Linked DNA regions of Homo sapiens: all the other regions are linked to region 1. Evidence: promoter capture Hi-C in 16 types of primary human blood cells and fetal thymus (Javierre and others, 2016). All regions are on one chromosome and are shown on one strand. Each heading gives the region's core, a stretch centred on a gene start or on the middle of the fragment in contact. The rest is flanking DNA. Distances are from core to core; before and after follow the strand shown.

Region 1 (3,850 bases), core at 1,152-3,651:
TTCAGAAAGGAATTAATTACTTTCAATTTGCACAATTTAGAACAAATATCTGGCTTTTCCCTAAGCTTAATGATTTTCCATTTCACACAACTAAAATATAATAGCATTATTTTATAATCAAGTTTAACTGATGGTCTATGATAGTAGAGCGATTTAGTATTTTGACAAAAATCTTATGAGACATGAAGTCATTCAATTTGCAGCCCCAAACTGAAGCTCAAACACAACATTTTAAAAGTATTTTCTGCCTATACCTTTGACTGCATGCTACTTTAAATAGAGGGACAAGACTAAATGGTCTATCTGGTTGTTCTTACACTTTATAAAGAGTCAAAAGCAAATTTGAGTTATAAATATGCACATCATAGTGATCATTATTTTATCACAAATAAATATTGATTTGCTTAATCAAAGAGAATACTCTCCTAGAATAAGAGCAGTATTTCAATCTGCAAACATGTTTCTTAATGTCACTGAGCATTTAGCCTATCTTCACACACACATTTCATAACCTTTCAAGGACAATCTTCTACATCACATTTTAAGGAAATACACTGAAAAAGCAATCCATTTTGCAATAGCATTTTACATTACTACAAATTCACGAGGTTCAACCTTCAATGCCCATGTACCTTTCACAAAACTATTGATCATTTCCTATCAATGCTTTACAGGATTATATCACAAAGGAACACATAATGCATGTATGTGCATCAATGCGTAAAGGAGAGGATGCATTTCTGTGCATAGTATGTGAACTGACAATGCCCACTTGCCCAGTCCTTGCTTTACTCAACTTCTTACACATCATCAGCCAGCTGCCCTGTTGATGATTCCTTGCACCTTATGCGCTGCTTTATCATTGAGTCAGATTACTACCATTTCTGGTCCAGAACTCATTAAGAAAAGTCCTTTTTCAAGCAAGGTCTTTGAAATGTAGTTGTACACCTATAAAAGAACTATCTGGAGCTCATCTTGAGAGAGAGAAGATGAATTTATCCTCTGTCTTTAGGCTTTTACTTACAGAGCCACACCTTTATAAACAAGTTCTGTCTGTCATACTGACAGGAAGGAGATATGCAAAATGTAACATCTGGAGTCATAAAATATAATGACCTCAAATAACATTCCAGAAAGAGAAAGGAAAACTAGTTCTGGTTAGGGAGAAGATAAAAGAGGAAAAGGAGTAAATTTACATCCTTAAAACAAGAGTAATAGAAAACCCTACCGGGTTTTTCCAGTAAGTTTTGTGCAGCAGCAGCAACAACCTAATCAATATGTGCTTCCTCACCCTCTTGTCCCCAAAGAGAAACTGCTGGGCCCCTCTCCACCGACTCCCCAGGAGCAGAAACTACTGCCCCCAAGGAAGGGAGAATTCAGAAGCGTGGGGAGGGGGAAAAACAGGTATATGTGGTTCTAGCATCCTCATCTTCATATCAGCTACCAGCCTGAAACTACATTCAGGAACCAGGCTCCCAGACATTCCCCGGCCCTGGGCCCTGCCTGAGCGCCAGAGAGCTTGAGGAGCCTGCAGCATAGTTCTCAGACCCGAAACAATGACCTCCCCCGTCCAAACCCAGGCACTCTTGCGCCAAGGCCCTAACCTCTCAGCGAGACCTCTTTGGGGAAGGACAAGAGATGCTGCCTGATGGCCGAGAGAAGACATGCCAGGCTTCTCTGCCAGAATGAGTTGTTGAGGGTGGGATGAAGGTGGTCAAGGAGATGGGCTCTTTATTTTTAAAACAAAAAACAAGGCAACCGGGACCACCAACATCAGTCACCCTCACTCCCCACCACTGCCTCTATTCCTTAAGGACTTCTTCCCAGGCCGGCGGCGGCGGCGGCGGCGGCGGCGGCAGCTTGCGATCATCAGGATTGGAAGTGAGAGCGAGTGCCCGGGCCAACCTCAGCGTCTCTCAGGGACAGCGCAGGTGGGCGCAGCCTTGGAAGGTCAGCGAGGCCAGAGCTCAGAGTTCCACGGGGGCCCGGAGAGTGTGCGTGTGTGAGTGAGAATGCGAAAACGCGCGCGCGCCGGGCAGAGGGGCGCTCGGCGAGAGGGTAGGCGCGGTGACAGGGGTACCCCAGCAGCCGAGGAGAGACAGCCCACCCCACCCTTTAAGCTAAAGAGCTGGAGGGGTGATGGAGGCTGCAAGACGGAGAAACTTGATGCAAAACAGACAGGCTCCCCCCTCCAAGACGTGCCGCCACGCTCTCAGACACGCTCCCTCGCCTCCCGGATTACCCACCATCAACCACCCCACCCTGCAAAATTCCCCCACCGAGCCCTAGGATCCCAGGCGGGTAATTACCTCTCCCGGAGGCGGAGTGGGGGGCGGCAGCAGCAGCAGACACTTTTAGCCTGACTTTCCTGCGTTCGCTTGCGAGCGTGTGAGCGTGTGCGCGCCCAGGAGGAGCTGTAACCTGCTATTTATAGACCGAAGCCTCAGTACCCGGGGCTGAGAACCCGGAGGAAACTAGCAGGCGGCGGCGACGGCGCAGGGCGCCGGCCGCGGCTTCGCGAGGCTCCAGCAGCTCCCCCAGCCTCTGGCTTCGGCCGCGCTCCCTGCTCGCTCCTCGCCTACCAGCCCCGCGCGCGCCCCAGAGAAGTTGTCACCAGCGCGGCTGGCTCTCCGGCTGCTCACACGCCCCCTGGCACAATTGCTACTTTCTTCCACCCCAACCCCCACCCTCCCCGCTCCTCTTCCTCCTCCTCTGCTCTCTCCAAGCGGTCTCCTCCCAATGTCACCAGCGACCGAGTAGAGGCGGCCGTGGCAGCGACAGTCGCGCAACTGGCGCTGCTCGCTTCCCGCTACTGATAGAGCGGAGATGGTGGCCCGGCTGCCCACCCCGAAATTACCACGCTGGCTCCGTGTGCTCACACCCCGTACCCCGACCCCTTTCTGCGGCCCCTCTGCCCGCTGGGTCGCCCACCCAGACTGGGCTGTGGGATCACCGCTACCGCGACGAGGGGGGACCCGAGGCCGCCACGCTGCTGCGGGGGCAGGAGAAACCACAGAGAAAGAACCCGCGGGAGGAAGAAAGCGCCCCAGACCCCGGCCTATGGCAGCGCAGTCCCTAGACCGAGGGTTTTTGGAAGGGGCTTGGGATCCCTGCTGTCACTGCCTGCGTCTAGGCATCCATTCACGCCTGCTGGACCCCAGTCTGCAGCCGCGCTGGGACCCCTGTCTCTTGCCCCTCCTCCCCCTTGCCCCGGGCAGAGGTCGGGCTGAGGAGACCAGCTTAGAGCAGCCCTCGGCCACCCACCGCCAGTTCCCACGTCGCGGCGGGTGACTGAGGCCGAGATGCTCCCAACTAGCGTATGACATGCCTTTGATATCCCGGGTGCGTGGGGACAAATCCGCCCTGAATGTGTTGGGGTATCAGGAAAACGGGGTATGTAAGCAAGCAGTCTGGACGGAGACTAAAACTCCCCCACTTCCTAGCCCCTAACAAGCCCACAGGGGAAAGCACGCACCCTGGTTATTCCGGGCTGTGTAGGGTGTGGGGCAAATGACTCTCCCCATCTGCGCTTTACAGGTGCCACCTGGCGGCTCTCTCGGAAAGGTTTTGATGGAGCCGTTCAAAGGTAAAGGTGCCCAGAGCCAGCCCATCAAGACACCCCAGCCCTTCTCCCTGAGGGCGCTTTAAAATCACATTTTAAGTAAAGCAGTGTACGAATGCTTGTACACAAGTGTTACATTTGCCATGCAAAAAGACTGGAATCTCAAAGTCAGGACAGTGAAATCAATTTGGGTTAAGTCGGGGCTTAACAGTTTCACAAACCAGGAAGCTGTATGTACCCCCAGCTGTCACCCCTGCTGTCACTGCCCGCATCTAGGCATCCTTTCAC
Region 2 (3,660 bases), core at 54-2,553, 790 kb before region 1:
TAGATAGCACTGTACACAGCACATAGTGATTCTATATATATTATGGGATTCTCAACTCCATTATATACAGGCTTATAATGTAGTGCTTATTTAGTGGGGACTCAGACAATCCTAGGTCTGAATCGGGCTTATTCTCTTCCTACCTGTGCTATTTAGATGAGCTATACTTTGGTAAATATTCGTTTTGTAATATTTAAAATAGGGATGATAAATTTGTATACACACAAACAAACATGAACATGTACAGAATCTTTCTTTAGCATGTCTGGCATATGTTAAATACCATCATCCCTTGGTACCTACAGGTGGATTGGCTCCAGGATGGACCACCATGGATAACAAAATCTGGAGATGCTCAAGTCTCTTACAGCCAGCCCTCTGGGTCCACAGATACAACCAACCACCCATCAGCTGATGAGGAACCCATAGATTTAATTACATACAGATAATTATTAAAGAGATTATCTGCAGAATAAATTATTAACATACATAATGACTTCCAAACTTATTTATTCCCTAGGAATTTTTTAAAATTTCTCTAGAAATTGCTACCTGATTGAGTATAATACATGTTCCTCTGTGTTGAGATATGTAAACTAGAGAAGTTGCATATTTGTATAAGTTAAAATAAATATATAGGTTTCTCTCTTCTCCCTCTATTCCTCCACAAACAAGCACATATTTATAAAAGAACATTAATCCTCAAAAAGATACTACAGCCAAGAACACATTGAATACTTTCATTAAACATTGTTTTGAACATAATACCTTTACTTTATCATCTACTGGCTAAAATTCATAGTGCTTAAATTGCCTAGTTTTCTAAGACAGACTTTCCTATACAGTATTCCGTAAGTATTGTTATAGAATACTAGATGCTGGGTTAACAAAAGTTAAGTTCTTTTATGGTAGAGTTTTCCTAAGACTTTAATATCTAAGTGAGACTTCTGGGAGCTAGCAACATGCTATTTCTTGGACTTGGGTGGTGGTTTCATCGGTTTTTGCTTTATAATTATGTTTTTGAAATGTACATCTATTTTTTATTCACTTTACTGTAAATACATAAAAAAGTCTTACATATAATGTATGTTGTGATATTCGAAGGAGATATAGATTAAAAATAATTTTCTCTTGGTACACACATTTAACATCAGCGTTGCTCTACAAGGGTTTTAAAAGACATTTAAAGCCACCAACTAATTAGAAAATAAACCATTTACCTAAATTGATATCCACATACCACAATCGTGATGGGTCACAAAGCTAAGTAGAAAATTAATTCAACTGTCTAAATAATTCTTACGAAAGTGTATTATTCTTGTGTGCATACATTTAGATATCATTTTGTTTTGATTTTTAACCTAAATAAATGTTTCAGTTTCTTTTCACTTGGTAAAGGATAAAATCTAGGGTTCTCCTACAAATCTGTGGGTCCAGAACCTCTCATTACAAGAAAGCAATGTGGATTCCTTATAGTTATAAGTAAAGGTAATAACACCGTTCTCATCTCTTCATTTTTCTTTGATGGTTTTACTTTGCAAAAAGTATAAAATGACACATTAGACTGAAATAAAATGTTCTGACTTCCTTAGAACCAACACTCAGGTCTTTTTTGATCAAGAATAAACTATTTTTATCAGACTACCATTATATTTAAATACCTTTCAACTATTTACAAAATGACCTCACAAATTGTCCAAATATTTATACCTTTAATAACTTTAAATACTCCATGTATTATAAATTAGATAATGAAAATTAAAGAGATTAGATGTAGAATAAATTAACATGCCTAATGATTTCTAAAGAGAAATGCTATTGCTCTTTTTATTAAACTAGCTTATTTATTCCCTAAGAATTACTTAAAATTTGCCCAAAAATTGCTACCTGAAGTATAACCCATATTCTTTTGTGTTAAACCGTGTTTATTATTCTTCAGATGTATTTCTAAAAAACATGACATCAATTTTGCTGTGCTAAATAAGTATTGTATATTACACTTTTGGAAACACTTACAGACATAAAGCATTTCCAACAGACAAGACATGTACAAATAATTTCCCCCAGATTTTTGTATAGTCATTTTAGAGCTTTTTAACAAGGGTAAGAACTTTGTTGATGAGATGTAAGCCTTTTTTCCCATTTGGGCATTAAAAATGATGGGATTTGGCAAATGGGAACCATATTTATGCAAAGAAAAAACAGTAGCAGGACACACTGGGGAAGTGAGTTCTGAGCTTGGTGCTCTCACTGACTAGTGGTGTGTACTTACTTAAACTTGACTTACTAAAATGGTATTTGGGACAATTGGCCTAGGTACTCTCTATAAGCCCACAGTCTATTCTACTTCAGCAATTCTATATTTGCTTGTCGAATTCTACCTCTTAATTTCTAACTCTTCATTCATCATGTACCAGGCACTGTACTAGATGCCTGAAAGATAAAGTTCCAGCCTTCAGGGCTCAAAGACTAAAGGGGGAAATGATACCCAAATCAATATTAAAACATCAATCTCATGATGAATGTCTGTACAGTGACATTCAAGCATAGACAAAGGAACAATGAACCACCACAGAAGAGGTATTGTCTGGGAGAGACTTCACAGAGATGTCGGAGTTTATTAGGCAGAGAAGGGGAAAGGACACGGCCAACAGGGACTGCGTGTGAAAAGGACAGTGACTTCAAGGACCTGGAGGGTTGGCTGGGAGGACAAAAATTGTGGAGAAGGGAAAGGAGAGGGAGATGGAGAACCATGTGACAGGCCACTGAACTGCTCTTAAGCAGCTGGTACACAGATCAGATATGTATTTTGAAATATGAATTTGGAAAGCTAACACAAAGGCAAGGCTTCCAGAAGGCAATGAGGAGAGAGAACCTGAAGAGAGATGGTGGTGAGGCTGGATCTACCAAAAACATTAAGTGGATGGTAACATTGTATCATTAACAGAAAGGAAACATGTATTTTATAAACACTGGTGATATTGGTACTAGTATCATTGTTCTGCTGGGAAAAATTGTCATCCTGACTTAGTCCTAGGTCCCAAGTATGGCTACCACATTTCCACACAGATAAAAGTTACAATTGTACCTGTAGTCATGGCCCACTTTCTCAGAAAATACTTTACTTTAGATATGCCGGAGTGTTTCACTCAATATTAACCTGAATCTCCCAATTTTTCTCCAAGAAACCATGAATGATAACCTAGACCTAGAAAATTGTGGGAGGGTAGTAAGGTGCTAATTGCTAACCTCTACCAGAAAGCAAGAATGTTACAATAAGAACCCCGATTCAGGTATTCCTTGATTTCTTGGGCTGATTTTTATCGGTGACATAGACTCCAGTGACCATTCTCTAATCCACTTCAGGCCTAAGCTATTTGCACTTGAATATATCATTCTTGCTCACAAAATATAATTTAGTGTTTTAGAATAAAATAGGACAGCTAAAGGAACGAGTTCATTTTCTTAAAAGCCCAAATGGTTTTAGGCAATTCTTAGGACACTGGGGAGATCTGCTCTGTTTTTTATTTTATAATTCTAATCGACCCTCACCTTCATGTATTGTCTTTGGATAACATTGCTGTTTTATACATTCACTCGGAAACTTCTGAAGGAAATATTTTTATACAGGTCATTTAAAAAATTCTCTGATCATACTGT
Region 3 (3,730 bases), core at 68-2,567, 740 kb before region 1:
TTTAATTGGCAATATATAGAATCACATGTTGTTGTTGTTGTTATTTTGAGACAGAGTCTCACTATGTCACCCAGGCTGGAGTGCAGTGGCACAATCTTGGCTCACTGCAACTTCTGTCTCCCGGGCTCAAGCCATACTCCCACCCCTCAGCGTCCTGAGTAGCTGGGATCACAGACACATACCACCATGCCCGGCTAATTTTTGTATTTTCTGTAGAGATGGGGTTTCACCATGTTGCCCGGGCTAAAATTTTTTAAACTTATATTCCTATGAAGAGTTTAAGTTACTTGAATATAGAATTATTTTGTATTTCAACAGTACCTATACATATTTCTTTAGCAATATGATTGTTTTAAGTATAGCACTGAAAGTCCTCACAGACTTTGCCAACAATCTACTTTGTAATATATATTTTGAGTAAGGATGGCATATTATTAGTTCTCAAACATTAGCATGAATCAGAAGCCACCTCAAAGGCCTATTAAAACACAGACTCGGGGAGAGTTTAGTAGATTCACAGTGTGGCCTGCGAATTTGCATTGCTGACAAGTTTCCTGGTGATGCTGATGCCGCTGGCCTGGGGACCACATATACTTTTCAAGAATTAATATAAGAAATATAATTTTTATCAAGCTACTGACAAAAATTCTGAGACTTTTTTTCCAAATTGTAAGTAATTTGTTAAAAAATAATTAACATTCAAGTTATAATAAACTCTTTTTTTTCATTAATTGCTAAAGAAAAATAGTTTTACTTACATTATTAACTTTTCAGGTAATTAACAAATTTAATACTTAAAGTATGCTTGCTACCAAAGAATCTCCATGTACTTAAATTCATTTTGGCAAAAAATAATATTTGATTTGACATAAAATAATATAAATCATAATATAAAATCTGCAAGTGACATTTTTAACTATCCACACATGGGCACGCATATGCCACTGCAATATTTGGATACCACATTCATTAGGTTATGAAGACATAAACACTCTGCCACCTGAGCTATTTCACACTAAATAACAGAATATAAATCAGTGAGCAAATTGTTCATGATTACAGAACAAATAGTAACGAGTAGACTTTGATTACAGTTTTTGGTTAAAATATTATAATTTTCCTACTTTATTAAAACTTAGCTTCTTATCATTGTGAATATCTCAACATATTTATACTATTTATAGATGAATTCCAAATACATTCCCAGCTCTCTGATTTTGGACTGCTCAAATGTTATGTGCTTAATACGATGGGGAAAAGAAATGTAGAATTGGACAATGGCCCCCTCCAAAACAAATTCCAAATGTGTAAAACACATTTTTAAAGGCTTGGGTGCCTTAACTTTTTTTGCATAAAATATTGCAATACATATATTTAATAAGTTAGTTCCCTCATTCACATTGACTTAATATTATTTTGTTCAACTGGTATTATATCTGATGTTCTCCTGCATGTGTGTCCTATGTCTGATGTTGCTTATAAATGGAGACTTAAATCTTTAGTAAAGTCTTTTATATGGTTAAGAATTATACAAAATTTTTATCAGACTAATTAAAATGTCTAATTATAAGGTCCATATTTTTATTATTTGGCATTTTCCAGTGGCAATGAAATTAATGTCTCAGAATGAACAGCAGGACACATTCAAGAAGGCAATCAAGAGAATGATGCAGGTGTTGGCCATGCTACCTTGGCAATCAGTCTTTTTGGATCAGATAATTTCAAAATCACTCTCACATCCCTACCCCTGCTTCTGTAGTCCACTGACCTCTATGTCTGACCTCTTCTAAAGATTTATAATCAAGAAGCTATTATTGCTGTCTTCTCTAACTCACATACTTACAATCAGGAGGCATCTTTTCCATAAATATCTTGTAATATTCTTGTAGAAGTTCGAAGTTTTCCTGATTAATACTTTCTTGCAAAGAGACATCTCCAAACCTACAAACAGAAAAAAGAAAACAGCTGTGGGTTATAAAACGGTACCAAAAAGTAACACATTTTACCTTTCCTTTTTAAATAGATTAGAAAATAATTTCCTAAGGAAAGAGTCTGTCTCATTTTTCAAGCTACAATTCACAATGGTGATTTCAAACATATTCCAATCTCCACTGGCCCTGATTTCACTAATCGCTTCTAACACCTCAAATATCCTCACAATCATCAAATGTGAACCTAGATAAAATACCATGTATAAAACAACAGTCTCTGTGCATGGACATAATTGATATTAGCTTCCCTATCCTACTCCACACCTCTGTGGCAGGGCTACATCCCTGTATGTGTTTTAAAAAACTTTTCTTACTATCTATCCAACCATCCATTTCACTCGTGGCAGCTGAGGGAGGGGACCAGAAGACCAGCACTGGACACTGGGCTGCACGCAGTCTTGCCCACACTATCAACTGCTGTAGGCACACGTAGAGCCAGATTTCCCAGACAGTAGATCATTTCTGCCGACATTTTTTTCGTTCATACCATGAAGTCAAATGGTTCTGTACACGTAGTCTTCCACCAAGAGGTGTCAAGACAAACCTGTCTACCAGTGTGTCACTAACCTTGTGTTATCTTTGAGAATTTCCCAAGTTCAAAGGTAAAACCCACTTGTCTCCCTATAAAAGGATGCTATGTAAATGGCTTCCAATATGTATCTTCATCAAAATCTCTATTTCTAGGTGTGAATAGAAAATTTCAGTGTGCATTTTCCAACTCCACTTCAAATATAACATAACCCAAAACTAAAACTGCTTCCTCCTTTGAACCATTGCTAAGCATGTCCCCAATATTTTGGCATTAATTCAGGTTCAAAATCTAGGCATCATTTTGGATTTCCTCTTTTCCTCACCTTACCCACTATTCCTCAGTCTTTTCCTATCTCTGGTAACCCTTCCTTTTTTTTTTTTCTCAACCACTGTCATTATATATTAAGATATTTAATCATATCCAGTTTAGACTCTCCTAAAGCTTCCCAAATACCACAGAACTATGCCCCTAGTCTCTTTCACTTCCAGTTTACTTTCTGGACCCTTGTCAGATCATTCAGTCTCAATGAAAAATGAATTCATCTATACAAAAAATATTTAACATCAACTACATACCATACATTGCACCATGCAATAAATGAAATGTTGGAAAAATTAATCTAACCTATATTTCATCATATCAACTCACTGAACTTCAATGCTTCTCTCCTCCCTGAAAGGACGATGTCTTATAGTCTCCCTAGTTTAGCATCTAAGTTTCCACAAAGGCTTCCAAAACCTCTTGTGGGAATGTAGTTACACTCTCCTCCCTTAGCAGCAGTATTTCAATGCCTTTGGGACTTTTAACATTCTATCCACTCTTGACTTGAATGTCTTACTTTTCTTGATAGCTTGATTAATTCTGATTCATCTTTAAAGCCTGGCTCATCTCCTCTATGATACTTCCCCCACGGATTCATCTCCCTTCTGTGAATTGCTTTGTTTTATGCACTATTCCTGTTCCTTCCACACCTTTAATTATTGCATGAGCCGAACTGTAATGTAATGTTTGTTGACTTGTCTTCCTCACTGGATTACACCTTCTTTCAGGATAGGAAGCCGATTCCACGCTTCTTGTTACCCTGTATTCCTCTTATGTCCCATAGCTTGGCAGAGCAGTGCTTGGTATAAACTCAGTGTTCAGTATCTATACTGAGTTGAACTTGGAGAACAGGGATACAGACCCCAAAAATCTAGAGGAGTTTCCA
Region 4 (3,755 bases), core at 237-2,736, 760 kb before region 1:
AGAAATAACTTAAATTCTTTTTCTTGGCTTCATGGTAGAACAGTTCATTATATCCTGAAGAACCTAAATTCTTACGATATAAAGACCCGAATTCAAAATTTCCACAGTCTAGTAGGGTGGGATGGATATTTAAACTATTATTAAATCCAGGAAAGTACACTGCAGGCTATGACATAACTCAGTAAAGATTTGTGAAGCAAGGGAAGCACTGGACAATTCTATAAGAATTGGTGGGTGTTGGAGGGCATCCAGCAAAGATAATGCTTTGCAGCTACCAAGAGCGTTTGAGGCTGAGGGGAAAATAGCAAAGGCACGAGGCATGAGCCAGTACTGCAGAAACACGGAGTGTGCAGTTCAGAATGTCCTTGGAGTGGTTAGTCCTGGGGCAAGATTTATGAAGGAGAATCATGTTCTGCTCTGCTGGGGAATCTGGGCTTCATCCTAGAAAATGCGGGCAACTGATGAGTTTTAAACAAGGGCTTAACCCCTTCTGGAAAGCCCCTGAGCTTCTTTCTGAAGTCAGGCTTGTACAAATGGCTTTCAAACAGTTTTGAAAGCAATACAGAATAAGAAGTTTCCTTTAACATGAGATGAAGACATCACATCTGGAGAGCTGATACATAACAATGCAATTTTAATTAGCAATACTTTATTATGTATTTGAAATTTGCTAACAGAGTAGATTGTAGATGTTCTCACCACACACACACACACACACACACACACACACACACACACACACAGAGAGAGAGAGAGAGAAAGTGATAAATATCTGAGGTGAGGAAGTAGTAATTAGTTTGACTATGGTAATTATTTAATAATGGATATGTATCATACATCATCAAATTGTATGCCTTAGGTATACCTAATCCTTAATTATCAAAAATACCTCAATTTATAAAAAGAAAAAAGCTTACTTTACAAACATCTCACAGCAGTCATACACACACACCCCTCTGTAACAAAAACCTTATGAAATGATATTTACCCTTAGTGTATACATTGCACTCGAAATTTTTGTATTTCATAATTTTTCAAAAATTGTAGTTCCAACACACCACATTTATTTAACATTTCCTAGGATCAACATAAAACATTTGCAAAGCCCTGAGTTAGGGCAACCCCATGTCCAAAGTGACTGGGACTGAAGTGACTTTTTCACAAAGTTCATAGTCAGAGGAGGAGTCAAGGCTAAAACTTTGTCTCTTAACTGCTGTACCAGTAATTTCTCCCAAATCTCTGCTGATGTTTTTACCATTGGTAGTACTAAAACCAGCTCTAGTATTAACACAATAGACCAAATTCTTCAGAACGCTGAGACTCCAGAACAGAGCATGATTTATCAAAATAATTTTGTTTCATTATAGACATGGAAATGTTTTAATAAGCCATTTTAAACAGACTATAAGAATCCTAAATGTAAATCAAGCACCTGGCCATCCTTTCCCCATTCCCACCTCATAAAGAGAGTGTGTTAGAATACACAGGCATGATGTCTCATGGAAATTTCATTTCCTCTCCCATGGTGTGCTTCTTACAAGAAAAGTAATTTTGATTTTTTTTTTAACATTTTTAGGCCACTATTTCTATTTCTATAGTGACAAAACTTGCTTTATTCAGAGCACACCTCTATCAACCCAATACTTGGGTTGCTGCCATTTTTTTTTTTTTCAACCCAATAAAAATTCTGCAGACCACAGAAATTCAGGTCTGGTTCAGGAAAGCAGTATCATTAATAATAGCCAGTTTGTTAATAGGTGAGGTTTCAAGATGTAATGATAGATCCTGATGTATCAACTGAAAATTGTGGTGTACACAGAACGTGAATTGGTTTTAGGCTTAGACTGTGTCTCCTCAAATGTAAATATAGCCAAAGAGTCTTGCTTTTGCTACTCAGTCCTGCATTATTCTAACACAAAATTTAGACAGGGCAGCTGAGTCTCTATGCATATCTCCATAATAGTATTCTTTTTTTTTTCAAATGGAGTTTAAGAAAGTATTCAGAGGTAAAAGTTACAAGAATGTTTATTGCATTATTGTTTATAATTTTAAATAGCAAAAAAGCTTTAATATGTTCATAAAGAGTAAGAATAAACCAATATATTAATGCAAAGTAATATAAGTAAAAAGGATACACAAATGCCATATGTGTCAACATGGATATATCACAAAAACAATATTGAGCAAAAAAGCACAAATTATAGAAAGATTCATACAAAACAACAGCAATAATATAGTCAAATGTGCAAAACTGTACCATATTTTTATGGATACATAAATATAGAGTAAAATGTGTATGAGGATGCAAAACATCAAATTCAGGATATTGATGTTCTCATAGGAGGGGAGGATTAAGGGTGGTAACCTGGAGGGGTACAAAGGGAGCTTTTACCCTATCTGTAAATATTTGTTTCTTACGAAAATTCCAAAGCTGAGCAATGGGTTCCCAAATGTGTGCTATGTATGATTTGTTCTTTTTTGTTTGAAACTTTTATAATTGCTTTTCAAAAACAGCACTGAGCCAAGATTCCAGGAAAGTGATTTCTAATGCCAATTCTACTGCTGCTTTGACGTGTAGTCTTAGGCAAATTGCTTAACCCTCTGTCCCTATTTCCTCAACTGCAAAATAAGGGCAAGAATCCGGTCATGCGTCATTGACCAGTAATGGAAAACAATGAATAAAACTCTTGGCAGAAAAGGCTACATTATTAAATTCTGTGTCACCTCTGAAAAACAGAAGATATTAGTAGCACTTAAAAAAGAGTTCACAGCCTCAGAGGGGAAGCCTACTTTCTCAGGTAAAAGTCAGAATGTATCCAAAGTAAGAAACAGTCTCCTCACACACGTGCAGTCACACACCCCAGTCACAAACATTCACAAACCCCATGACTATTCTCGTACCTCCCCAATGGAACAGAACAATCAAGTTGAGAGTCAGGTTTTAGGGCCTATATCCTCCTTGTTAGGTCAAATAGGTTTCTTCAACAAGAAGAGCTCTGACTTTGACGACCTGAATCACAGGCAGGGTATTAATAAGTAAACAGGAATGGAACCGTGGCCTTTTAGCTCACTGAACTGTGATGCTAATGATGTCAAATAGTTTCATTCTCTTATGGCCAAATAACTGTGTGGCCAGAAACTGTTCCAAGATGAATCAGAAATTATGGCTGCCTTCCCAGTCCCTAATCTACTCACTTCCCACACTAAGTGGCAGATACAAAATTGCCATGGGATGCACCACACTCCCACTCTGACGTCCATTTGTGTGATCCATACCCCTTGAAATCAAGACTAGTTCACGAATAGACATGATCTAAACCAGTTGGCACTAAATTCTCATCTTAGCAACTGTTTTAAGGATATGCAAGTGGCCTGTGCTGTTCCAGCTGAGTGAAGCTCCTGAAGAGGAAAGGAACCTCTTCTTAGCCCTTTGGTTGAGTGTGGGGTTAGCTCATAACAGCCATCTTTTAGCCACAAGACCAGACATAGGATAAAATTAACATAAGAGATAAGAGCAGCCTAATGATAAAATACAAAGGAGATATTGTTTTTTGTTTGCTTTTGTTTTTTGAGACAGAGTCTTACTTTATCACCCAGGCTGGAGTGCAGTGGTGTGACCTCGGCTCACTGCAACCTCTGCCTCCCTGGTTCAAGGGGTTCTCCCGCCTCAGCCTCCCAAGTAGCTGGGATTACAGGCACCCGCCATCATGCCTGGCTAATTTTTGTATTTTTATAGAAATGCGGGTTTCGCCATG
Region 5 (3,663 bases), core at 116-2,615, 820 kb before region 1:
TTTGTTGTGGTTGCATATGTTTTAAAGGCTTATTAACACACACAAACCTATGCCATAACTGCATGCTTACACCAGGATGACTGCTAAGAAACATCTCAGAGATACCTCACTGACATTCATGAACTTCACAACATAAAGTTCAGGCTGATGGGAATTTTCATTTTGGGTATCAAAATGTTGTTCATTTTTATTTTATTTGTAATTTTAGATCATTGCAGTGTTTTGCTTATCATTCTATTAAACGTTCTATATTGCTACATTCACAGCTAGATCACACAACCCAAGTCAGAGTTCTGAAAAGATGCCATGGTTTTGAAAGGTCTGTTGACCACTTTACTCACTCCATGCATATGCCTGTTGCAAGGGAGGAGTCACACCTTGACTGGATGATAGAGATCATTGTGGAACATACCTGCAAACTGCCTCAGTATTCCAGATCATGAGTTAACTCTACCTAATTGAGTGGCTACACATTTTTTTTAAATCCCTTACATTGATTCTCAGGTTGACTGTGTTCTCATAGGCTATTAAGTTGTATCACAAAAAAAATATGTTCCTTTTCCCCCTCTCCTCTCTTCCATTTGGTTGGAGAGTGGTGCTCTGTGAATCACCCCTAGTCCTATTGAAATGATCCATGTTTCCTCAGAAACATTTAAATACTCATGAATGAAATTTACACTTTGTGAACCAATCTCAATCAGCTAGGCTCAACACATAGAAGCTTAGAACTAGAAATGACAGTACTGAATCATGTAAGATTTTTTAAAATGGATTTCTTTCAGAGCAATATGCTGATGATGAATTGAAGTAGTTCCTAGATTTTGGGAAACATCTGTGATCATCTCCCCCACCACAAATTCATGACAATAAAAACAAACAAAAAAGACCAAGGTGAAGATTATCCAACTGAAATGTATTTGTGTTCCTGTTTATTAACATGTTGGTAAACTTAGGTGTCAGCTTTTCCATAAGTCCCCTCTGGAGGTCTGTAGTACTTGGGGAAAGCCATCAGCTGTAGCATGTTGAAAGCATACTTTCTGCATTTGATATTCTTCAGTACATTCTCTATGCGGCATCCTTCTCTGGTGAAAGGGGAAAAAGTACAACTTCATGAAACACAGAATAAATAAATATGCTTTATTTGTTTAATGCAGAGTTGCAGCAACCATCCAAGTAAAAATAACAAAGATTCAACTCTACATTTTTTTTTTCCACAAGTGATGATACATCTTACAAAATTAAATCCTAGGCCAGGCCCAATACCATTATTGCCCTCTGAAAGAGATGACTTAAGTCTCTTTACTCTTAACATTTAAAATTTAATAAACTCTTTAAATATAATTTGCTCCACAATACAGCTCCACTTTAGTTTCATAAATATATCTGCCTTTTTATAACATTTCCACAAATTAATTTCTCAGTCTCTTTAAAACACATTAAAATCTATATGTAGCCCTAAGGATGCAGGTTCTAGAAATAAGGCATTTAATTTATTAAGTCTGGCCCTATAGATTTTTAAAGAAAAATTTCATCTCTATTTTATTATTTTAGCTGTGCAAGGAAGAGAGAAAATGGCTTTCTGAACAGCCTGGGCCAAGTCTCAGCTTTATAAAGGAAGAGTGCTTGTCCACGGACAGTACAAAAGTCACAAGTGCTGGGAATGGTACATCAAGACACAAACAAGACCTTGTTAAAAAGAATAGAAAAGTCCTCTGAAAGCCAAATCAACCCAAACAAGAGATACAAACAGGTAATTTAATTACAAAACATAAATAGCCATTCTCTCCATAAAGTTACTTGACAGAAAAGAGTTAATTGCAGCAAAGAAGTAAAACAGGTTAAAAAAAATTTCTATCAGCAGATGGCATCTATGATATTAGCACAGTGGAAATAAAGTCTGCAACCTCCCACATCTCTAGAACTTGTCTCAGGGTTTCAGTGTTTGTGCAAATTTCAGTCTTAATTTCTTTAATAAATTTAGTGGGATGAGGACAGGAGGTTCAGAACTTCAAGCTTTCAGGATTCTGTTCTTTGTCTTATTCCAAAGACAGTAATTTAAAAATTCTTCTTGAGCTAGTTAACAGTGGGAAACACCTTTCCATGAACAAAAGAGCAAAATAATCCACCTAATGCATAGTACTTTTTGTTTTTTAGATTTTAGGAAAAACAAACTAAACACAATTTAACATTTTTTAAATTCTGTGAATTTGAAAATGTAAAAATATTACAGCATTGTCCCCATAATTTAAAGTTCATTGTCATTTGTAGAAAAGAAAAAGGAATACAACATAAAACTTATTGGTATTTGGCTAAGAGTAACGCCAGACTTAAAATAAGCCACACAACTAGCAGGTGTGAGCTGACAAGCAGCAAGGCGACAGGATAGAAGTGTCGAGAAGTTGGCTTGTTATCAGTTAGACAGCCTGTTTCAGGATCATCGGATTCATTCAGTGCTCCCTGGGTTTGTCTGCTGTTAAATGAGGGGAAGTTGGGGGGGAAAAGAAAATAGTATAGAGTTCACACAGTAAAAAAAATTCAGCCTTAAATATTCTGAAATACAATGCATTATCTTACATAACACAACTCTTTCAGATGAAATCTTATGGTAAATTTCCCCAAATGCATCTTGTGTATTGTTTTCTCATTGTACTACATGGGCAAAGGAATTAAAACAGGAGATTCCTTTAGCTCTTTGTGCAAGAAGGAAGAGAGAAACACTGTAATGATATTCACATGGGTTGATTACATATGTGCAAGGAAGAATCAAATAAGCATAACAGCACCAAATCAAGACTTTATGAATACAACTAAAACATGGATTAGCTCATGAAAATAATCTGATAACTACATCTTTAGAAAATGAAATGAACAACACAGGATGTAGTGAAGCAAACCAATGTGTCTGGCATATTTAAACATACTCTCTACTGGCATTGCACCTATATAATGTATTTAAAGTTATAAAAATGATTTATTGAAATGGCACAATCTTTAAAATGAGTGAGACATCTGACATGCCATCCTTGCAAGCCATAATATTAGTTTAATAAAATCCAACTCAGCACCCTTCTGTTAGTTCAGCTCATAAATTATATCACCTCCTGCTCATCTTCTTTAGATAGGGCCAAATCTATCTCCTATGGACATCTCATCTGAAAAGAGACCCATATTTACAGAGTGATACCACAGAAAATAAAAGACTTCATTTCTAGATTGTTTACTTTCTGTGTAAATAAAAAAAAGTAGGGGGTTGGTTTATAATTCTGCTTAAAAGCAGCTCCAATTATGGCCAGTCTGAAATATACCATATTGATATAAATTGAAAATAAAATAATTATGCTCTAGTTCATCAGTATTCAGAGTATTAAGAATCTCAATCACATTCAGTGGTTAAGGGGGTGGGATATTCTCTATTAGCTCTTCTATGTTTTCAGGCAAAAAACTGATTGTGGCTCAGTCTTATGAAAAGTGGAACTTTTCAAAGGAAACTTCTAACGAAGCTCCTTAGCCATGGCTGATTTCTAGTCCTTCGCAATCCCCAAACAAGTCCTATACAGAAATTTTTGACCAGGCATTGACCACACCAGTGTCAGCATTTACATAAATATCATAATTATTTCATACAATATGAATTAGTGTAAAACACCAAATCAACCATGTTGT
Region 6 (3,768 bases), core at 849-3,348, 770 kb before region 1:
TGACAAAGGGCTAATATCCAGAATCTACAAAGAACTTCAGCAAATTTACAAGAAAAAATCAAACAACCCCATCAAAAAGTGGGCAAAGGATATGAACAGACACTTCTCAAAAGAAGACATTTATGCAGCTACAGACACATGAAAAAAATGCTTATCATCACTGGCCATCAGAGAAATGCAAATCAAAACTACAATGAGATACCATCTCACACCAGTTACAATGGCAATCATTAAAAAGTAAGGAAACAACAGTTGCTGGAGGGAATGTGGAGAAATAGGAACACCTTTACACTATTGGTGGGACTGTAAACTAGTTCAACCATTGTGGAAGACAGTGTGGTGATTCCTCAAGGATCTAGAACTAGAAATACCATTTGACCCAGCCATCCCATTACTGGGTATATACCCAAAGGATTATAAATCATGCTGCTATAAAGACACATGCACACATATGTTTATTGTGGCACCATTCACAATAGCAAAGACTTGGAACCAACCCAAAAGTCCATCAATGATAGACTGGATTAAGAAAATGTGGCACATATACACCATGGAATACTATGCAGCCATAAAAAGGATGAGTTCATGTCCTTTGTAGGGACATGGATGAAGCTGGAAACCATCATTCTTAGCAAACTATCGCAAGGACAGAAAGCCAAACACCACATGTTCTCACTCGTAGGTGAGAATTGAACAATGAGAACACTTGGACACAGGGTGGGGAACATCACACATCGGGGCCTGTCATGGGGTGAGGGGAGGTGGGAGGGATAGCCTTAGGAGATATACCTAATGTAAATGACGGGTGCAGCATACCAACATGGCACATGTATACATATGTAACTAACCTGCACATTGTGCACATGTACCCCAGAACTTAAAGGATAATAATAAAAAAAAAAGTAAATAAAAGAGAACCAATGCAACAGATGATATGAATAGTGGAAATGACTTTTTTTTTTTTTTTTACCTTTCCTCAATATAGTTTGAGGACATAACAACCATTTACAGTTTAGTAAAAACAATGTGATAGGAAGCTGCCATGACAAAGAACCAATAATGACAGTAATAACAGTCATCACCACACATCAGTAATAGCCATGACAGCATTTAATATTTACTGATCCTCACTGTGTAACAAGTACTATTTAAGTGCATCAGTGATCATTGTCTCTTTTAGCGCTCATGACAACCCTATTAGATGAGGATGCTGGTGAAATTATCACTACAATATAAGTTTGACTTTACCAACTGCTTACTATGAACTATACCCAGTTACCAATTTCTTTATATATGTTGTTTCATTTTACAGATAAAGAACCTAAGGCCTCTTAGAATTTCATTCCCACTGCTAAGAAGTGGAGAAATCAGGCAGTCTAATTCCAAAGTCCTTCCTCTTACCCACTTTATGTGCCATAGTGGGGCAGCCTGCTCTTTGCTGAGCTGGCCTAATTGTTAGATTTTAGGGTATTCAGAGCAGTGATTACCCCTAAATAATACTATGGTATTTGAGAGATATCACATGTGATTTGTTACTAATAAAATACCAATTTTGCAAATGATATGCTCTATAAATTACAGTTTTGATCCCCATAATGATGTCATTCACACTCATATGAGTTCTGATAGGCTCACTAAATGGAAGAGAATGGAGTGTAATTATGCATAATGCATTTTTGCTCATAGGGCTTTAGGCCACTATCGTTTGAACATTAATATATTATGCCTAGCATTTGAACTTCTCTGTCATCTGTGGTCTTCTGATCAGGAGAAAAGCTTGCAACATTTTGGGTACTTATTCATAAATACAGTTGCCTCCCAGTTCAGTTTTCTTTAGAAATTGGCCTGTGAAGCCATCCAATTTGTTCCCTTGAACCAGTGTCTAGAGCACTATAACCAATATTCAAGTTAGAAGAAGGGTTGAAGCCATTTTATGACAGTGTTTACCTGAGTATAGCAAGTGTTCTGATGGAAGACAAGAAGTTTTAGACAGTATAATGATAATTCACTGAATTAATGGTTTTGGATTTCTTTGTATATGAGGACAAACATAATAGGCATATTGAATATATGAATTCATGGATATCATTGGCTAGGACAAGGCAGATGGTGTTTGTAGAAAAAATCATTAGGCAGTGAAATGAAAATTATTTCCTTGATTCTCTTGTCTCAACCTTCCAGGGGCATAAATAGACTCTAGGTTTTGGCATAACTGCTCTCCATAGATCATTCAGGTTTGGGCTGCCTGCATCTCAGCCTTCTTTAGTGAAAATGAGACCTTTCTTGGACTAGTTCTTGCTACACCTCATTTTCCAAGTGCAAAGGCATCAATCATCTCTCTAATCAACTGTAGGTTTTTGTTTCTCAGCTGGAAGTGTCTTTCTCTTATCTAAAATGGAGCCCTGTCCCCCTCCCAGCTAAAAAGCTTCACATCATGTCACAGGCTCCTGTCATAGCATGATGCATTCTCTGTCCAAACCCAAGGGATGCTCCTGTCTTATTCCACTGTGCTTTCATTTAAAAAATAAAAATAAAGCACATTTTTAAAAAAATGCACCACTCCTGAAACAGTGTCTTCTAAATGTAACTTAAACACAACAGGCCAGTGGTTTATTTATAAATGCTGGAAACCTTTCATAATTTGCAATTATGTGCAAAACTCCATTATATGAAACATAGAAGATGAGATGAGTGAGAATCTGGATGGCCAGTAAATGTTTAGACAGATATTTAATCTTATTTTGTGTTACTGAGAAAATATAACTTAAACAAAGATAGCACTTTTCATCCATCAGATGGTTAAAAACTCTTACAGTACAAGTATTGGGATGTGTGGAGAAATGGGAACACATGTGCATGCCTTGTGGCTTATAAATTAGTATAGCTATTTGGAAAAGCAATCTGGCAGCATCTAGCAAAATTAAAAATACAAATGCCTTACCACCCATTATACCTATTGGTTTATATACATGGATATACATGTGAGAATGTCTATTACACTATTGTTGGTAATCAGATGTTGGTAAAACATCTGATGTTTTGCTGTTACTTAAAATTAACTAGGGCAATAGATAAATTGTGGTCTATTTATACAAGGGAGTATTATATAAGTTTAAAAGAAGATAACTAGATCTAAAATAAATACAGATCTCAAAAACTTGATATCAGCTGAAGAAAATAAGTTGTTCAATGTGCCACACATTACAACACTTAAACGTAAGCAAAATCACTTGACAAGTGTGATGAATGAATAAGCACTACTCTTATCCACTTAGATAATTCTAACATAGATTTTCCTAACTCCTGGCAACTTACCTAAATTGTATGCATCCTTAAGACACAGTTCAGATTCTACCTCCTCCAGGATACCTCCTGGCCACAGTGATTCTTTTTATCCTCTGAGCCACTTAATAATGAACACTTTCTATGCTCTGGACTCATTTATTTGATTCTGTTCTTGTGGGAATTAGCAGTTTCCCCATATAGGATGCTTAGTGTTATTCTTAGTGCATAGTAAGTCCTCATTGACTATTAGTGGCTATTATAATTTCAAATGTGTTTCTCCATTTGTATAGCATGGTACTCTGCCATAGTAGATATACAAAAGATGTTCACTTTTGACTATGAAAATGACGACCACATATTTCTATTAATGACCTGTTTTCCCAACTCACCTCCAGAGGTGGGGCTCCTGACACATTAATTACAGGATATCCTAACTTGCCAGTGAAAGCTGTGGGAATTCAGGACTTAGACATTCTCTAGTTC
Region 7 (3,820 bases), core at 70-2,569, 990 kb before region 1:
AACTATGTATTGGCTTTGTGCAAACCAAAACCAGAACCAAAGTTGAACATGAACCAGAAACAAAACAAAAAATCAGAGTAAGGGGAAAAATAAGTTAGCAAAGGTAAATTCTATTGCCACTTTTGATTCATTCAAAAAGAGCAAACCAAAATACAGATGAAGTTGCTGCAAGGAGTACTTGAAGAACAGAGATTTGAATAAGCAATCGAGAAATAAAGTGTGAAATAAGTTTTCTAGGTGAGAAAAAAACTGGTTAATATCTTATAGGGCAATAAAACCATAACTTACGGACTTATCTTTTTAACTGCCAGAAATCATTTGTATCTCTTTCTGAAAAAAATTAACATGTAACTTCACAGAATCTGAGATTTAATCAGTGTTACTTAGAAACTCAAACAAAGATATATCATAGAGAATTCTTAGGTGGATCTGTTAGGCAATGGCCCAGAATAACATTAAGAAGACACACAGTCATCCTTTTGCTCTATTTTGAAGTTTTGGATAATTTTTCTTAACAATGTGATAACGAATATACAATAATAAACAATTTCATATTCATAGTATACTGAACAGTATATATGGAAATAATTAAAAAAGAAATTTGTATCAGAAAGTTTATTTATACAACCATAATTCTAACCTTGATAACTTATGACAAAAGATCATTTGGTTAATTGTCATAAATAAATTATATTACCAAATTGTGCTATAAATCATATTATTAAAACATACTATACTAACACTGGAACAAAATAATGAGTAATATATTTTTCAGGGGGACATATCACACTGTATTCTTTGTTATCAAAGTCAATGGAAGATTTAAGTGCTACTTTGAGGTAATGAAGTATAATGGAAAAGGATTCTTCCATAGGATAAGAATTATAATTGCATAAAACCTAACTTTCTGTGAAATAATGTTGTAATGAACTGAATGTGTGTGTGTCCTCAAAATTTATATGCTGAAATCTAATTCTCATGGTGGGTTGTTGCGGGAAGTCAGGGACCCTGAATGGAGAGACTGGCTGAAGCCACCACAGAAGAACATAAATTGTGAAGATTTCATGGACATTTATCAGTTCCCAATATTAATACTTTTATAATTTCTTATGCCTTTCTTTACTGCAATCTCTGAACATAAATTGTGAAGATTTCATGGACATTTATCACTTCCCCAATCAATACTCTTATAATTTCTTATGCCTGTCTTTACTTTAATCTCTTAATCCCATCATCTTCATAAGCTGAGTATGTATGTCACCTCAGGACGCTGTGATGATTGCATTAACTGTACAAATCGTTTGTAAAACATGTGTATTTAACAACATGAAATCAGTGCACTCTGAAAAAGAACAGAATAATGCGATTTTCAGGAAACAAAGGAGATAACCATAAGGTCTGACTGCTGTGGGATTGGGCAGAATAGAGCCATATTTTTCTTCTCGTAGAAAACCTATAGACAGATGTGCGAGTAGGAGAAATATCGCTGAATTCTTTTCCTAGCAAGGAATATTAATAATTGATAGACCTGGGGAAGGAATGCATTCCTGGGGGGAGGTCTATGAATGGCTGCTCTGGGAGTGTCTGTCTTATGTGGTTGAGATAAGGACTGAAATACACCCTGGTCTCCTGCAGTGCCTTCAGGCTTGCTAGGATTGGGAAATTCCAACCTGGTGAATTCTAGTCAGACTGGTTGTCTGCTCTCGAACCCTGTTTCCTGTTAAGATGTTTATCAAGACAATGCATGCACAGCAGGACATGGACCCTCATCAGTAATTCTAATTTTGCCCTTGCCTTGTGATCTTTTATTGCCCTTTGAAGCATGTGATCCTTGTGACATACTCCCTGTTCGTACATCCCTTCCCCTTCTAAAATCCCTAATAAAAACTTACTGGTTTTGTGGCTCAGGGTCGCCATCATTGTCCTACCAATATGTGATGGCATCCCCAGAGGCCCAGCTATAAAATTTCTCTCTTTGTACACTTTCTCTTTATTTCTCAGACTGACCGACACTTAGGGAAAATAGAAAGAACGTATGCTGAAATATTGGGGGCTGGTTCCCCCGATAGTGGGTCCTTTGGGAAGTAATTAGGCTATAAGAATGGAAGGGATTACAGCCCTTATAAAAAGAACTCAGAGAGCTAGCTTGTCCTCTTCCCATCATGTGAGGATGCAATGAGAAGTTAGCAGTCTGCAACCCAGAAGCCCTCACCAAAGCCCTACCATCAGAGTGCCCTAACCTGGCACTCTGATCTCCTACTTCTAGCCTCTTGAACTCTGAAAAATAAATTTCTGTTGTTTATGAGCCACCCAATCTATAGTACTTTGTTAAAGCAGCCCAAACTGACCAAGACAAATGGAGGCAGTTACTACATAGTATTCACAATTGACATGTAATCTGCAACACCTATATCACGTTGCCATAGGATTTCTCAATAATAAAAACAGCTTTCAGTTAATGCATATAGAATAAGATCAAGTTGGATGTCAGAGAAGGAAGGAGGAGAGGTTAATCTATTGCCTTGTTTTGAACAACAACAACAAAAAAAAGCAGGGGAGGGATGTAATAATATATTGTAGGAAAACACTTTATAAAATGAGTAGCTTATCTAGCATTTAGACATTGGCTATTTCATTAAATCTCTAGGAACTGAATTGAAGTTTAATAAACTAATGAGAGGACCTTTGATTTTCCTTGCACCAGAAAACAGAGAATGATGCCTGTGAAATGAAAGGTTTATCATATGTGAGATAGCTTCATCCTGCAAGGAAATTGATATTATGCTTGTTACTTTCTACATGTATTCAAGGACTAGTATCACCATCCACATTTCACAGGTGATCACTGAATATTTTTCAGGAATTTCTTACATTGCTAATGATTAGAAGTTGCTTTTCTCATCATTCCAGTGTATAATCAGGCCAGCATATTTCAGAGAGAAGCGCAATCACAAATCCAGGTTCTGATTAATAGAAAGCTAACAGGTAAGAAATATTTAGCAGAAATTCAAAAATCAAGGGAATAGTAGAAAACTAAAACTGAGACAAATACTGTCATTGTTTGTTTTTAAGATGCCACTGCATATAAATACATGTATCTCTTGATTTTCACACTCCATTTGGAAACCTGCACCCCCTTCTCTCTCCCCAGGGCAATGCAGAGAGGTGCAGTGGACTCAGCTAGGCTGGGAGAGTCAGACACAGCATGGCCTGAGAGGCCCCTCAGCCACTGGAGCCCTATCTTTGCCCCAACCTGCCTGTCTCTGTGCCAGGCTGGATAAGGCACAGGAGAACTTAATTGAGAATAAGCTTCACTCTGTGCTGGGGCTGGTGGGGGTGTTGAAGGAAGAGGAAAAGCTTGAATCTTTAAAAATAGTTGGCCATTTGCAATTACAATTCTTTTCACTCTTAAATATTCAATAGGGAAAAGGACAGGCATGACCTTTGAAAGGGGCTGGTAGTTTTCTGGAAGCTGCTATGGCTGGTTAATAGAAATGAGATACGGTCCAAGTTGCAAAGATGCTAAAATATTTTATAAAGAAAAGGAGATATAACTTGAAAACTGTCACTTTCTTTAGACTTTAGGGGACTGCTGCTTTTCACCCTTCCCATATAACAGAATGCAATGCAGAGAACACAACTTCTTCTTCCCATAGTCCTTTTCATCTGGGTCCTTCTTCTGGCTTCCCTGGTGATCAGCACTGAATGTCAGAGCTGCGACTCTAGCAGTTGTCCTTTGTCAGCAAAGCTTTACCCCATCGGGGGAGTAACTCAGACCTTTAATTTCCTCAAACATCACTCACGGCTCAAGTATTTAAGA

What was found. Contacts are between HindIII fragments. The CHiCAGO score rates a contact against its expected background, and 5 or more counts as called.
Region 2: a fragment that was not itself captured here is called in contact with the fragment with the promoter of INPP4B in region 1 in 2 of 17 cell types (non-activated CD4 T cells and total CD4 T cells); the score reaches 6.9 in non-activated CD4 T cells.
Region 3: a fragment that was not itself captured here is called in contact with the fragment with the promoter of INPP4B in region 1 in 7 of 17 cell types (non-activated CD4 T cells, naive CD4 T cells, total CD4 T cells and 4 more); the score reaches 13.4 in non-activated CD4 T cells.
Region 4: a contact is called between a fragment that was not itself captured here and the fragment with the promoter of INPP4B in region 1, in 6 of 17 cell types (total CD4 T cells, naive CD4 T cells, naive CD8 T cells and 3 more). The highest score is 12.3, in total CD4 T cells.
Region 5: a contact is called between a fragment that was not itself captured here and the fragment with the promoter of INPP4B in region 1, in 4 of 17 cell types (naive CD8 T cells, naive CD4 T cells, total CD4 T cells and 1 more). The highest score is 5.8, in naive CD8 T cells.
Region 6: a fragment that was not itself captured here is called in contact with the fragment with the promoter of INPP4B in region 1 in 2 of 17 cell types (non-activated CD4 T cells and naive CD8 T cells); the score reaches 7.3 in non-activated CD4 T cells.
Region 7: a fragment that was not itself captured here is called in contact with the fragment with the promoter of INPP4B in region 1 in 2 of 17 cell types (naive CD4 T cells and total CD4 T cells); the score reaches 6.6 in naive CD4 T cells.

The regions. Positions count from the first base shown.
Region 1 is chr4:142,843,900-142,847,749 of GRCh38, forward strand. It overlaps INPP4B (inositol polyphosphate-4-phosphatase type II B), which reads right to left and starts at 2,402. Exons shown (of 26, transcript NM_001101669.3): 1 at 2,310-2,402. All of the region lies in intron 3 of USP38-DT (USP38 divergent transcript), which reads right to left. RefSeq lists an enhancer at 3,159-3,745. The HindIII fragment of the contact is 4,051 bases long and covers 64-3,850 here.
Region 2 is chr4:142,050,494-142,054,153 of GRCh38, forward strand. All of the region lies in intron 25 of INPP4B (inositol polyphosphate-4-phosphatase type II B), which reads right to left. Among named protein-coding and RNA genes, the nearest start is that of IL15, 420 kb to the left of the region's middle. The HindIII fragment of the contact is 8,711 bases long and covers 1-3,660 here.
Region 3 is chr4:142,106,250-142,109,979 of GRCh38, forward strand. It overlaps INPP4B (inositol polyphosphate-4-phosphatase type II B), which reads right to left. Exons shown (of 26, transcript NM_001101669.3): 23 at 1,844-1,941. Among named protein-coding and RNA genes, the nearest start is that of IL15, 470 kb to the left of the region's middle. The HindIII fragment of the contact is 3,289 bases long and covers 1-2,962 here.
Region 4 is chr4:142,088,739-142,092,493 of GRCh38, forward strand. The region is part of intron 23 of INPP4B (inositol polyphosphate-4-phosphatase type II B); the gene reads right to left. Among named protein-coding and RNA genes, the nearest start is that of IL15, 450 kb to the left of the region's middle. The HindIII fragment of the contact is 1,152 bases long and covers 911-2,062 here.
Region 5 is chr4:142,027,833-142,031,495 of GRCh38, forward strand. It overlaps INPP4B (inositol polyphosphate-4-phosphatase type II B), which reads right to left. Exons shown (of 26, transcript NM_001101669.3): 26 at 1-1,082. The coding sequence ends at 950. Among named protein-coding and RNA genes, the nearest start is that of IL15, 390 kb to the left of the region's middle. The HindIII fragment of the contact is 1,292 bases long and covers 720-2,011 here.
Region 6 is chr4:142,071,589-142,075,356 of GRCh38, forward strand. All of the region lies in intron 25 of INPP4B (inositol polyphosphate-4-phosphatase type II B), which reads right to left. Among named protein-coding and RNA genes, the nearest start is that of IL15, 440 kb to the left of the region's middle. The HindIII fragment of the contact is 649 bases long and covers 1,775-2,423 here.
Region 7 is chr4:141,854,037-141,857,856 of GRCh38, forward strand. No RefSeq gene overlaps it. Among named protein-coding and RNA genes, the nearest start is that of IL15, 220 kb to the left of the region's middle. The HindIII fragment of the contact is 3,976 bases long and covers 1-3,307 here.